3 separate regions of the Homo sapiens genome follow, and regions 1 and 2 are each linked to region 3. The links are contacts of gene promoters, found by promoter capture Hi-C in human tissues and cell types (Jung and others, 2019). All regions are on one chromosome and are shown on one strand. The core of a region is centred on a gene start or on the middle of the fragment in contact, and the rest is flanking DNA. Distances in the headings are between cores, read along the strand shown.

What was found. The method cuts DNA at HindIII sites, captures the fragments that hold promoters and counts their contacts. A contact is called where the count stands out against the background at its distance.
Region 1: a contact is called between a fragment that was not itself captured here and the fragment with the promoter of TMEM44 in region 3, in 1 of the 25 tissues and cell types used here (IMR-90 fibroblasts).
Region 2: a contact is called between a fragment that was not itself captured here and the fragment with the promoter of TMEM44 in region 3, in 1 of the 25 tissues and cell types used here (spleen).

The regions. Positions count from the first base shown.
Region 1 is chr3:194,450,217-194,454,060 of GRCh38, reverse strand. ATP13A3 (ATPase 13A3) reads left to right here. Exons shown (of 34, transcript NM_001367549.1): 10 at 283-355; 11 at 3,785-3,844. Among named protein-coding and RNA genes, the nearest start is that of ATP13A3, 35 kb to the left of the region's middle. RefSeq lists an enhancer at 3,364-3,844. The HindIII fragment of the contact is 4,181 bases long and covers 427-3,844 here.
Region 2 is chr3:194,467,029-194,470,828 of GRCh38, reverse strand. All of the region lies in intron 2 of ATP13A3 (ATPase 13A3), which reads left to right. Among named protein-coding and RNA genes, the nearest start is that of ATP13A3, 18 kb to the left of the region's middle. The HindIII fragment of the contact is 5,781 bases long and covers 1-3,800 here.
Region 3 is chr3:194,631,357-194,635,557 of GRCh38, reverse strand. It overlaps TMEM44 (transmembrane protein 44), which reads left to right and starts at 2,139. Exons shown (of 10, transcript NM_001011655.3): 1 at 2,139-2,479. The coding sequence starts at 2,343. TMEM44-AS2 (TMEM44 antisense RNA 2) reads right to left here and starts at 2,630. Exons shown (of 2, transcript NR_186047.1): 1 at 2,391-2,630. RefSeq lists a silencer at 1,941-2,370. The HindIII fragment of the contact is 16,299 bases long and covers 1-4,201 here.

The DNA of each region.
Region 1 (3,844 bases), core at 1,268-3,767, 180 kb after region 3:
AGTCAAGACTCTACCACTTGACTGTCTAGAGACCATAGGGATCTGTAGTTGCTGATCACAGACTGGAATACTGGAAGGTACTGTTTTCAGGGCTATCCTGTTAAAGTGCTTCTTGTTTTGTCTTGAACTAAAACAATGAATACTCTGAATTTCTGACTCGACATTTTATAAAGATGGAGTGATATGCATTTATTGAATTAACTTATTTTTTTAGCACTCTGGCTTTTTTCCTGAGGAGTGGGTTCATATTGGCTAGTTTCTAACTTCTTTTTCCTCTTTCAGCAATATGTTATGTTGCATGACATGGTGGCAACTCATAGTACCGTAAGAGTTTCAGTTTGTAGAGTAAATGAAGGTAAGTAATTGAATGTTGGAAGAATAAATCAAAAAAGATACCTGTTAGGCATAATGTGTGAAGTAAGCCCAAAGTATAATACATATACATTCTTTGATTGATTGATTGATTGAGTCAGTGTCTCTGTCACTTAGGCTGGAGTGCAAAGGCACAATCTCAGCTTACTGCAGCCTTGACCTCCCAGACTCAAGTAATCCTCCCACTTTAGGCTCCCGAGTAGCTGGGACTACAGGTGCATGCCACCATGCCCAGCTAATTTTTCTATTTTTTTTTTTTTTAGAGACAGGGTTTTGCCATGTTGCCCAGTCTGGTCTCAGACTTCTGGGCTGAAGTGATCTGCCCACCTGGGCCTCCCAAAGTGTTGGGATTACAGGTTTGAGCCACTGCACTGTGCACCCGGCCTTTTTTTTTTTTTTTTTTTTTTTAAAGTCGATGTGGTCTCACTGTTGCACAGGCCTGAGTGCAGTGGCTCAACTTACCCTCCTGTCTCAGCCTCCCAAGTAGGTGGGACTACAGGCTTGTGCCACCATTCCTGGCTAATTTTTTCTCTTTTTTTGAAGAGGCGAGGTCTCACTGTGTTGCCCATGCTGGTCTTGAATTCCTGGGCTCAAGAGATCCTCCTGCCTCAGTCTCCCACAGTCTTGAGATTACAGGCTTGAGCCACTCTGCCTCGCACATACATTCATTTTTTTAAGAACTAAAAGTATACATTTCAGTTCCTGAGTTTGTATCAAATTCATTTATTTATATAAAATTGTATTTTTCTTCTATGTAGCAGGCACTATGCTAGGCTCTGGGGATTCGGTGTAGAGATAACAGTAGTAACAGTAACAATACAGTGTGACAAATGCTATGATAAGGAGAAGTCAGCCAACTTATGTATTAGGGGAGCTCATTTACTGTAGGTATCAGGGATGACTTCTTTGATTAAGTGCTTGTAAGTGATGACTATTTGAATTAGCCAAATAAGAGGTAGGTGAGAAGTTGATAAGGGGAGGCTGAGAGAAGGAGAGAAGAGGGTTCTAAATACCCAAAGGCCTAGAAATTAGAGATTGTGTGGACATTATAAGAACTGAAAGAAGAAATTTAGTATGACAAATACAGCAACTATAAATGATGGATAGCTCTCTGAAGCATGTTAGGGATTTGGGCTCAGTCCAAAAGACAGTGGAAAGCCATTGAAGGCTATTATTATTAATTTATTTTATTTTATTTTATTTTTTCGATAGAGTCTCCTTCCCAGGCTGGAGTGCAGTGGCAATCTTGGCTCACTGCAACCTCCGCCTCCCAGGTTCAAGGAATTCTTGTGCCTCAGCCTCCTGAGTAGCCGGGATTAGAGGCATGTGCCACCACGCCCAGCCAGTTTTTTGTATTTTTAGTAGAAACAGGGTGTTACCATGTTGGCCAGGCTGGTCTCTAACTCTGGGTCTGAAGTGATCCACCCGCCTTGGCCTTCCAGAGTGCTGGGATTACAGGCGTACACACCATCACACCCAGCTAATTTTTGTGTTTTTAGTAGAAACAGTGTCAACCTTGTTGGCCAGGCTGGTTTGGTACTCCTGGCCTCAAGTGATCTGCCCGCCTTGGCCTCCCAGAGTGCTGGGATTACTGGCATGAGCCACCATGCATAGCCACCATTGAAGGGTTTTAAGCAGAGGAGTGATAAAATACTTGCCCTTTGGAAAAAAATCATTCTGGCGTCCACATTCAGACTGGTTTAGAGGAGAGTAATACTGAAGACATGCCCCCCCGAATCAAGGTAGCAATTGCGGAGATGAAAAGAAATGAGTTCAAAAGATACTTAAATGTGACCATTGAACAGGATTTGACTCATTGGATATGAGGCCATGGAGCAGTGTCTGGCTAGGTGGATGGATGTTGGTGCTGTTTAGTTAAATAGGAAACTGGAAGAGAAGCAGGCTTGCAAGAATGGTAATATTTTGGACGTGTAACTTGTCTGGCAAGATGTTGAAGAGGTAAAGGAGGCAGCACAGCATCATGGGCCTTGGAGGCAGAAGCCGCTTTGATTTACTCAGAACACCAAATCAGTCTCCATTTTCTTGACTCAGACTACACCCAAGAGATTGCTTCCTTCCCTGTGCTTCCTGGCCACTTGCTACTCTAGCTAGGAAGATCTGCCTCCCTTAGCTGAAGTCTAAGATGTGTAGCTTATTGATGCCTCTCCTCTTCTTGTTCTGCTGTTGCTGAATATAATGGGGATGCCAGGGCAGACATACCATTCAACTTGAATCTTCCTTACCCACTTTGTATAGTCTTACATGTCATTGATACCTTGTTTTCTGGTACGCCTAAAAGGAGTAGAACTTCAAGTGGTATTTAAAAGCTTTAAGAAAAGTCAAATTTTTACTTTTTTCTTCCCATCTGAGGAATGGATTTATTTTCTTTTTAAAGAAATCCAAATTTTTAAAAGAAGGGATCTTATTTTTAAAACGAAGATCGATAATATCTACTATGTACTAAATGTCATTCTTTAAAAGTTGTTCCCTCATAATTTAGTAAATTACTTCCTTTTTTAAAAAAAGGAAAGAAAGAGTGTTTGTCTTACAGGCTAACATCACAAACAATAAGTTTCTTCTCATCCATCTCCATTTATAAACTAGTGTGACTGTCTTCTGAGCACAGTATTAAACCTGGACAGGGAGAGGGAGGGTGTTAGAGAATGAGAGGAAAAGAGAGAGAATACCTACATATAAGGTGACCCTAAAGAAAAGCCTTTCACCCTTCGGAAGATCTTTTCATTTTCATTTTTCTTTTTTTCAAACACCAACTTGTACCAGAGGGAAGATCTTTTTTTAAAAGTGTTTCACTAAAATTTGTAAGGAAATAATGAGCTAGATAAAATATTACAGTGTTTATTTAATGAATTTACTCATATTTAAAATAATATCTAAAAAGAGTAATTTAGGAATATTGAGGCAATGAGACTTGAAGGTTATAAATAGTGGCAGTGAGAAAAGGAATATTATAGATAAGCTGTTGAAAAGAAAAGATGCTAAGTTTTCTAGTGCTTCCTTCTGTTTCCAAGGGATTATAGAAATCGGAGTTTGTTTGACCTGTTTCACAGGCATCTCCTTTGTGGACTCATTGTGTCTCTTCCTTAGGCTAATAGTCACCATTTATCATGGACGGTTGTCATGAGTGTTGAAGCACACTTAACCTGCTTCGTCAGAGGGTACTTGGCATCACCGGTGCACAGCTGGTGTCCTAGCAGGAGACTAACTAGCTGACACACCGTGCTTTGTTAGCCTAATAATCTTATTTGTTAAAACTTGCCATTTGTTGGATTTTTCTATTTTACCCCATTATAAACTTCTTATTGAGATCAGATGACTTCTGAATAGCATTTGCTGTATTTTTCCAAGGTAAAGAATATCTTTTTCAGATTTTTCTTTCTTTCTTTAATTTCAGAAATAGAAGAAATCTTTTCTACCGACCTTGTGCCAGGAGATGTCATGGTCATTCCATTAA
Region 2 (3,800 bases), core at 436-2,935, 160 kb after region 3:
TCGTAGATAGTAGTAATGTTTTGAAATCTATCTAGCAATCATAAGAGTCTTAAAATTCTTAACCTTGAATGTGGAATTTTAAAAAGTTACATACTTTTTAACAATTTAGGGGAAAGTATGAAAGTTTTAAGAACATAGTAGCTTGAATAATTGAAATAGAAAATCTCTCAGTGACGTAAGTGGACATTTTGAGAATGCAAACTGTTTTATTACATTGCATATAAATGATATTTTGCACATTTTTTTTTATAAAGAGAGAGTAAAATGCACGTATCATTTGTCAGTCCAAAGGTAATGTCCCCCTTTTTGCCAAATACTATACAATTAGACAAAACTCTGTAGGATTTCTCTGAATAAAAGGGTTGATTTTGTTTTTTAAATAGAGTATATGATAAAAGCGATAAAGTACCTATGCAAGAATTAATGGTATAGTGTAGGCTAAACTCTTCTTCATATTGATCCTAATACAGGTAATTATGTTATCTTTCCTAATTATAGCTTATTTTGTTATAGCTATCACATTGTTTTGTAACATACAAAAAAGTATAATTATACAAAGACTCCACTTTACAAATGTAAATACAGTCTTGGTTTGGTGTATATTGGATACAATGGTCTTCCTTAAGCCTAAACACAGAAACAAAAGCATATTATAAGAGAAAGTCCAAGATGGGAAGTGATAAAGTGGGTATTGAGTAGAGCTTTGTTAAAATTTAGCTGGTATCCTTGTAAAATTTCCATGTATTCATTAAATTATATTATGTCATTCTTATTTTTAGGAGCTGACTTGAAGTTTTAAGTTTTGCCCTCATAAAGAATTGTCACAATTTGGTTATTACAGTTGGATGATTCTGATTTTTTAAAAATTCTTTTTGTATATATTTGTATAGGTATTAAAATTGAAATTGTTCAATGACTAAAGTTAAGGCTTTAAACGTATTGGGGCATATTTTATTTCAACAGCAAAAAGTAGAACTGATTTTGAACTGGACAAGGTTATCTTCTCAGTTACTGTAAATTTTACAAGTTTGAGAATAAAATAATATTTAGAATGCTAGCTGTGCTGTTTATATTTCAAGATCATTAAAGCACTCTTGGCTTGTGTGGTCTTTAAAGATGGGTTTATCAAATATTTATTTAACATTGGTAGGTATGTGTAATTCTCAGAAAAAAAATCTAGGACTGCAAAACAAAGCGGGATAATTCCTTCTCTCATTCAACAATACAAGGTGTCACAGAAATCTCAGTGAAGTTTTAATTTTTAAAACTCCAGAATTATATATGTTATAAACTTAAACACCATTGAGAAATTCAGTTACTGGAATTTCTTTTATACTTATTTATTTTTGTGAGTTTTTTTTTCTTTTTTGAGACAGAGTCTCACTCTGTTCCCAGGCCGGAGTGCAGTGGTGTGATCTCTGCTCATTGCAACCCTCCGCCTCCTGGGTTCAAGCAATTCTCCTGCCTCAGCCTCTCCCTAGTAACTAGGATTACAGATATGCACCACCACACCTGCCTAATTTTTGTATTTTTAGTAGAGATGGGGTTTCACTATGTTGGCTGGACTGGTCTCAAACTCCTGGCCTCATGTGATCCTCCTGCCTTGGCCTCTCAAAGTGCTGGGATTATAGGCGTGAGCCACTGCACCCAGCTGTGAATTTTGAATGATGCGCTTTTTTTTTTTTGGTGTGTGTGTGTGATGGAGTCTTGCTCTGTCATGCTGGCTGGAGTGCAGTGGCGCAGTCTTGGCTTACTGCAACCTCCACCTCCAGGTTCAAACGATTCTCCTGCCTCAGCCTCCTAAGTAGCCAGGATTACAGGCGCATGCTACCTTGCCTGGCTCATTTTTGTATTTTTAGTAGAGATGGGGTTTCACCATGCTGACCACGCTGGTCTCAAACTCCTGACCTCAGGCATTCCACCCGCCTCGGTGAATAATGCATTTTTAATTTTAGTTTTTTACTTCAGTACTGCTGAAGATGGCAAATACTGACTGAAGGAAAAAATTAAATTAAAAATGTATTATTCAAAATTGCTTTGCCTGAACTTTTACTTGATTACAGGTCGTTATTTAAATCACTTCGTGAAATTACCTACTTTGGAATTGTAGGCACGTACATAGACTATCCTTAAAAAAATTCAACACTCTCCACACTCACTATTATAATATTGTTACAACTCTTGAGAAACTCAGGTTTGAAGCAAAGATGTCTTTGAGGTTTGGAGATTTCTGTGTCTGAAAACAACTGATCTTGTTTTAAGGAATGAAATCTGACTAACTTTTAGCATGGTATAGGATAAATAGTATACTTTAATTGTTTGTAGTAATTACATAATGTGAAAAAATAAGTAAACTTTCAAAAATTGGCATATTTAATGTAGTGAGATTTTTTTTCCCAGTAGCTTCACTTTGTCCCATACTGTTTTTTTTTTTTTTTTTTTAAACTCACACAGCAAATCAAGTTTATTATAAATTCAAGGAAGGGTTTGGTTAAGCACAATAGCCTATAAGCTCCTTGCTATTTAGATAACATCAAGACTCAGGCATGCACTGTGGAATTGGAACTTCGGTGAGCTAACTAGCTAGGATTTATTCAAATAATAGGAGCTCTACGAGTGACAGATGGCAGAAGGGCACATCTTCTGAAAACTTACTAAAAATTGGTGAATTACAAAATTCTAAATTTTAATACCTTAATCATTTTGAAAGCAGTTCAGACAGAACCGAAACAGAAATATTTGGCATAAAATTCCAAATTTTTATGCTTAGTTTTATTTTTATTATTAAAAGCCAGCTTTTGAAAGCTGTGCAAATATCAGGAATTGGGAAGAATGATGATATAGTGCTACTGGTAAGAAAAATTTCTTCAATTTGTTTTCTCTGATATCGAATTTGACTTGGTTAAAAAACGTGTGCTCCAGCAGTCCAGAAAAGTTATATTTCTGTAAGTAATGGGTTTATCAATTTGGTATTAATGCTTCAAATGTCTGATTAGATATATAGTAGAATTGTATTTAATATGTATTTTTATCTTGATAAGCAGTGTATTTTAAATATGTTTATGTGGTTTTTTATCCTCTCAGTCATTGAAATAATCAGGGCTTTTACTTATGTACATTTAAAATTTAAATATGTTTTTAACATACATATGTTCTAAATGTAAGAGCTGTTGGAGTTGTCGCATTGGAGTTGACTAAAAGTTTATGTGAAAAGTGAATTCTTGGGTAATTTCCTTTGAGGTGTATAATATATTCAAAGTGAATAATTAATTGGAGGTTTTTAGAGCAACTTTTTATTTGAATTGTTTATTTTTAGCACTTTGGTAAAATTTGCTAAGACTTAATTTGCTTTAAAAAACAACTACGTTTTAGAGAAATTACACTCATAAAAAGAGTAATGGTGTAATATGGTTAAAAAATTGTATTTTGAAAAGTATGAAAATAGATTGCTATAGGCAGTGAACTGCCTATAATAAGCTCATTTAAAAATAATTAATTGGAAGAGTTCTTTATGTGGTCTAACTGTAGAAGATGAAGTGAAAAATATTATTATGCTGAACTAAGGTGAATGAACTCCTTCTATAGATGGAGAAAAAGTTTTAAATAGTTAAAAGTACATGGGCTTAATGAAAACATTGGATTTTAACGGCAGTTCCTTTCTAAAGTTATAAAACATGCTTATTCATCTATTTATACATACATTCTACATTGAAAAATTTGGATTTACAGGAGTGGGAAGTCTGTAGGTTTGTGGGAAATTGATGAAAGACAAGGGTGAAGAAGAGTAAGATTCAAAAACC
Region 3 (4,201 bases), core at 890-3,389:
AAAACACAGTGAACCACTAAAATAGTGTAGCCACTTTGGAAAATAGTCTGGCAATTCCTCAAAACATTAAACACAGTTACCACAGATCCCAGCAAGGACACTCCTAGGTATATACCCAAGAGAGCATGAAACCTGTGTCCACACAAAAACTTGTGCACAAATGTTCAGAGCAGCATTATTCATAATAGCCCAAAGGTGAAAGCAATCCAAACATCCCACTAATGAGTGGATAAACGAAATGTGGTATAAAAATACCCATACCATGTATTATGATGAGCCATAAACAGGAATGAAGTACTGATAACACGCAGCAACATGAATGAACCTTGAAAACATGCTAAGTGAAAGTCACAGAAAGGTCATATAGTGGATGATTCCATTGATGTGGAATGTCCAAAATGGGCAAATCCATAGAGACAGAAGGTAGATTTGCGATTCCTGGGCTGCGAGTGTTGAGGGGAGTGGACAGTAACTGCCAGTGGGCCGGGTTCTTTTCAGATGGGGGTGATGAAAATGTTCTAAAAGTAGACAGTGATGTTGGTTGCACAACGCTATGGATACACTAAAAACTGCTGAATTGTACATTTTATTTTTTGTTTTGTTTTGAGATGGAGTCTTGCTCTGTCGCCCAGGCTGGAGTGCAGTGGCGCCATCTCAGCTCACAGCAATCTCCGCCTCCCAGGTTCAAGCAGTTCTCCTGCCTCAGTCTCCCGAGTAGCTGGGATTACAGGCGCCTGCCATCATGCCTGGCTAATTTTTGTGTTTTTAGTAGAGATGGGGTTTCACCATGTTGGCCAGGGTGGTCTCAAACTCCTGACCTCAAGTGATCCACCTGCCTCGGCCTCCCAAAGTGCTGGGATTACAGGCGCGCACCACCATGCCCGGCTAATTTTTGTATTTTTAGTAGAGACAGTGTTTCACCATGTTGGCCAGGCCGGTCTTGAGCTCCTGACCTCAAGTGATCCGCCTGCCTCAGCCTCCCAAAGTGCAGGGACTACAGTTGTGAGCCACCGTGCCTGGCCAGAATTGTACATTTTAAAAGTACTATGTAGGCTGGATGTGGTGGCTCACACCTGTAATCCCAGCACTTTAAGAGGCTGAGGAGGGCAGATCACGAGGTCAGGAGTTTAAGACCAGCCTGGCCAACATGGTGAAACACCGTCTCTACTAAAAATACAAAAATTACTCGGGTGTGGTGGCGGGCACCTGTAGTCCCAGCTACTTGGGAGGCGGAGGCAGGAGAATTGCTTGAACCTGGGAGGCGGAGGCTGCAGGGAGCTGAGATCGCACCATTGCATTCCAGCCTGGGCAACAGAGTGAGACTCTGTCTCAAAAAAAAAAAAAAAAAAAAAGACTATGCTTATGGCATATAAATAATATCTAAATAAAGCTGTAGTTTTTGAAAATTAAAAAAGATTTTTTTTCTTTTTTTCAATCCTGCTCCTTCTATAGAAATATTGTTTTCAAGTCATGTCTTGCTTTAAACAAACCTACTAAAATCAATAAGGAGATTTAAAAATTACAATAATAGTTTACTCTCAAGAAAAACAGCCCTGTGTACTTGAACTGTGCGGTGTGTGGCTGGACAGGAGGCGGCCGGTTGCAGAGATAACCAGCTCTTGGCTGCGGGGCCGTGGGCTAGGATGACATCCAGGAGCAGGGCTTGGGCGACTGCCTGGGGGCGGAGGGTGCCGTTGGCAGCTTCAGAAAGGAGAGTGAGAGGCAGATGTGGGGGTATTTGTTCTCCGGCACGTTTGTTTCCTCCTTCCTGGTCTTGCACCCCACCCTTTTTACTGCGCCCTGTCGGCGATCAGGACCACGCCCCCTTCACCTCGGGATCCCAGCACCCATGCGCTTCAGCAGCGCAACTAATTGCTGTTGGCTCAGGAAATGTGGACAATACGCAGGAAGGGACGCCGTGCCTTACAGCGACCGGCAGGGACTCGGCCGTCCGCGAGCCCAGCCGCCCGCCCCGCTCCGGCCAGGATGTTGGAGGTGGGTGACCGCGAAGAGGTCGGCGGGGGGCGGGGGCCGCAGTCTTTGTGCGCGCGCAGCTCCCGGCTCCCGCCGCTGGGGGGCGGCCTCCGCCCTGCCGACCCCCGACAATAGCGCGAGGGGTGGGGAGCGCGCGGTCCCGGAAACTTTTCCCCGGCGCCTTCGCCGCCGCCGCCCGCGCCCGGGAGCGCGCCCTTCTCTGCCCGCGGTCGGTGCGCTCGGCCGGAGGCGCCGCGGCGGAACGGAACCCAGAGAAGGGCACGCGGGGCGGCGGCGCTCGGGGCTTGCCCGCGGCGAGGGAGGCTGCGCCCAGGTCCCCGGCCCCGCGCCGCGCGCCCAGCCGCGCCATGGGGGAGGCGCCCAGCCCCGCGCCCGCGCTCTGGGACTGGGACTACCTGGACCGCTGCTTCGCCCGCCACCGCGTCTGCATCTCCTTCGGCCTGTGGATCTGCGCCTCCTCCTGCTGGATCGCCGCCCACGCGCTGTAATGGGGCCACGGGTCGGGGGGCTGTCGGGCGGGGAAACGGGCGCCAATCCCCTGCTGCTCCCTCTCGGAAACCTAGAGGAGGGGGCGGAAAGGGGGATGAAGGAGATGGCTCAGTAATAGGATCCAATGGAACATTGCTCTGTAGACTGAAGTGGGATCTTCTTTCCGGATCCCACGCACAGGGAAGCTGGGCTGTGAGCCAAAGGGAGGAGGCTGGGTGGTGCAGCGGATGGGGCCCCGAGGACACCGCGAGCCCTGGGTGCTATTGTCAGCCCTTCGCCATTGACTCGCAGTGTGACCTGGGCAAGCTCCAGAACCTCTCTGGGCCTCCTATGACCGGAGATAATACCTCATAGGATGATGGGAGGATTCGATGAATCAGTACCGTTAAAGCACTTAGTAAATGCTCATTAAACATCATTTGTATTGCTCCAGCTAGGCCACCAACTCTTAGGACCTTGGCAAGTCCCTTGATGTTTCTGGCCTCAGTTTACCCAAAGTCCTCTTAGGTGGGAAGGGAGGTAGTGATATGATCCAGCTGGCCTGTCTTTGCCCTGGTCTGTCCAGCACCTGGACTGGTTTGTCCAGATGCCCACGGTAGCCTAAGTTCTAAGAGTGAATCTCCAGGTCCTCAGCCGCTCTGTCCTAGGCATGGAAATCCACTAGCAGTGCTCAGGATGGTGCCGCCCAAGCATTCCCTGGCAGGGGAGAAAGGACCAGCACCCCTGGGAGAGGTTAGAACTGTCTCCCTGTAGGCACTCAGTGGATATTCTCCTAAGGCGTTTGGTCGTATTGCAGAGATTCTGCAGCCCCACTACCCAGTACTGCAATACAAATAAAAAGACGCCTAGAACATTTACTGTAGGCCCAGTGTTGCATTCATTAACTCATTCAATGCCTGCCACTCACAATATCAGCACCAGGAGGTAGGTGCTGTTACCCCCACTTTCTGTAGGGAACCCTGAGGTTCTGAGAGGTTAAATAACTTGTCTGAGTGAAAGGAAAGAACCAAAACCCCAGATCCTATTGGAAAGGGGCAGGCTGGTAAGAGAGATTAAACTGTTCAGATCAGAGGCTGGAAACTAACAAGGCGCTGGACACGCATTATCCTTTTGTTCCTCACAGTTGTCCTCAGACCAGCACTGTTAGGCACTTTGCCAACCTTGGAGGGGTTAAGAGTGAGCCTCTGCTTCTCACCCTGCCTGGGATCTGGACATACCCATTTGTTTTCAGGGCCTTGCCATCCCTGAACCTCCCCTGCTCCCCTTTCTCTTAGAAGAATGTGTCTTCGGAGTGGTGTGTGGGCTGGGTTAAGGTCAGCTGGCACCCTGGCCCCAAGAGCTGGGGAAGTGGCTGAGAACAACAGGGTACGGAGCAAAGCCCCCGCGTGTGAAGCCAGAAGACCACCATTAACTCACCTTCTCACCAGAGGCCTCAGTTTTGTCCTCTCAAATGGGAGGGTTGATATAAATTATTTCTAATTGGGGTCCGCCTCTGGGAGTCTCCAATTTAAGAATCTCCACTCCTTGGTCTTCAATTGGTTTTAGGAGCCCAGGGCCCAGACTGAAGTTGATGTTGCCACTGTGAGCTTCAGGCTTGGGCCAGCAGGTCAGGAAATGTTTAGAAAGCCAAGAGCCCTCTGTACTCATCCACCATTCCCAAGGACAGGCGCTCAGAATCAGCTAAATCGTCCTAAGGATGTGGAATGAGCACCACCCT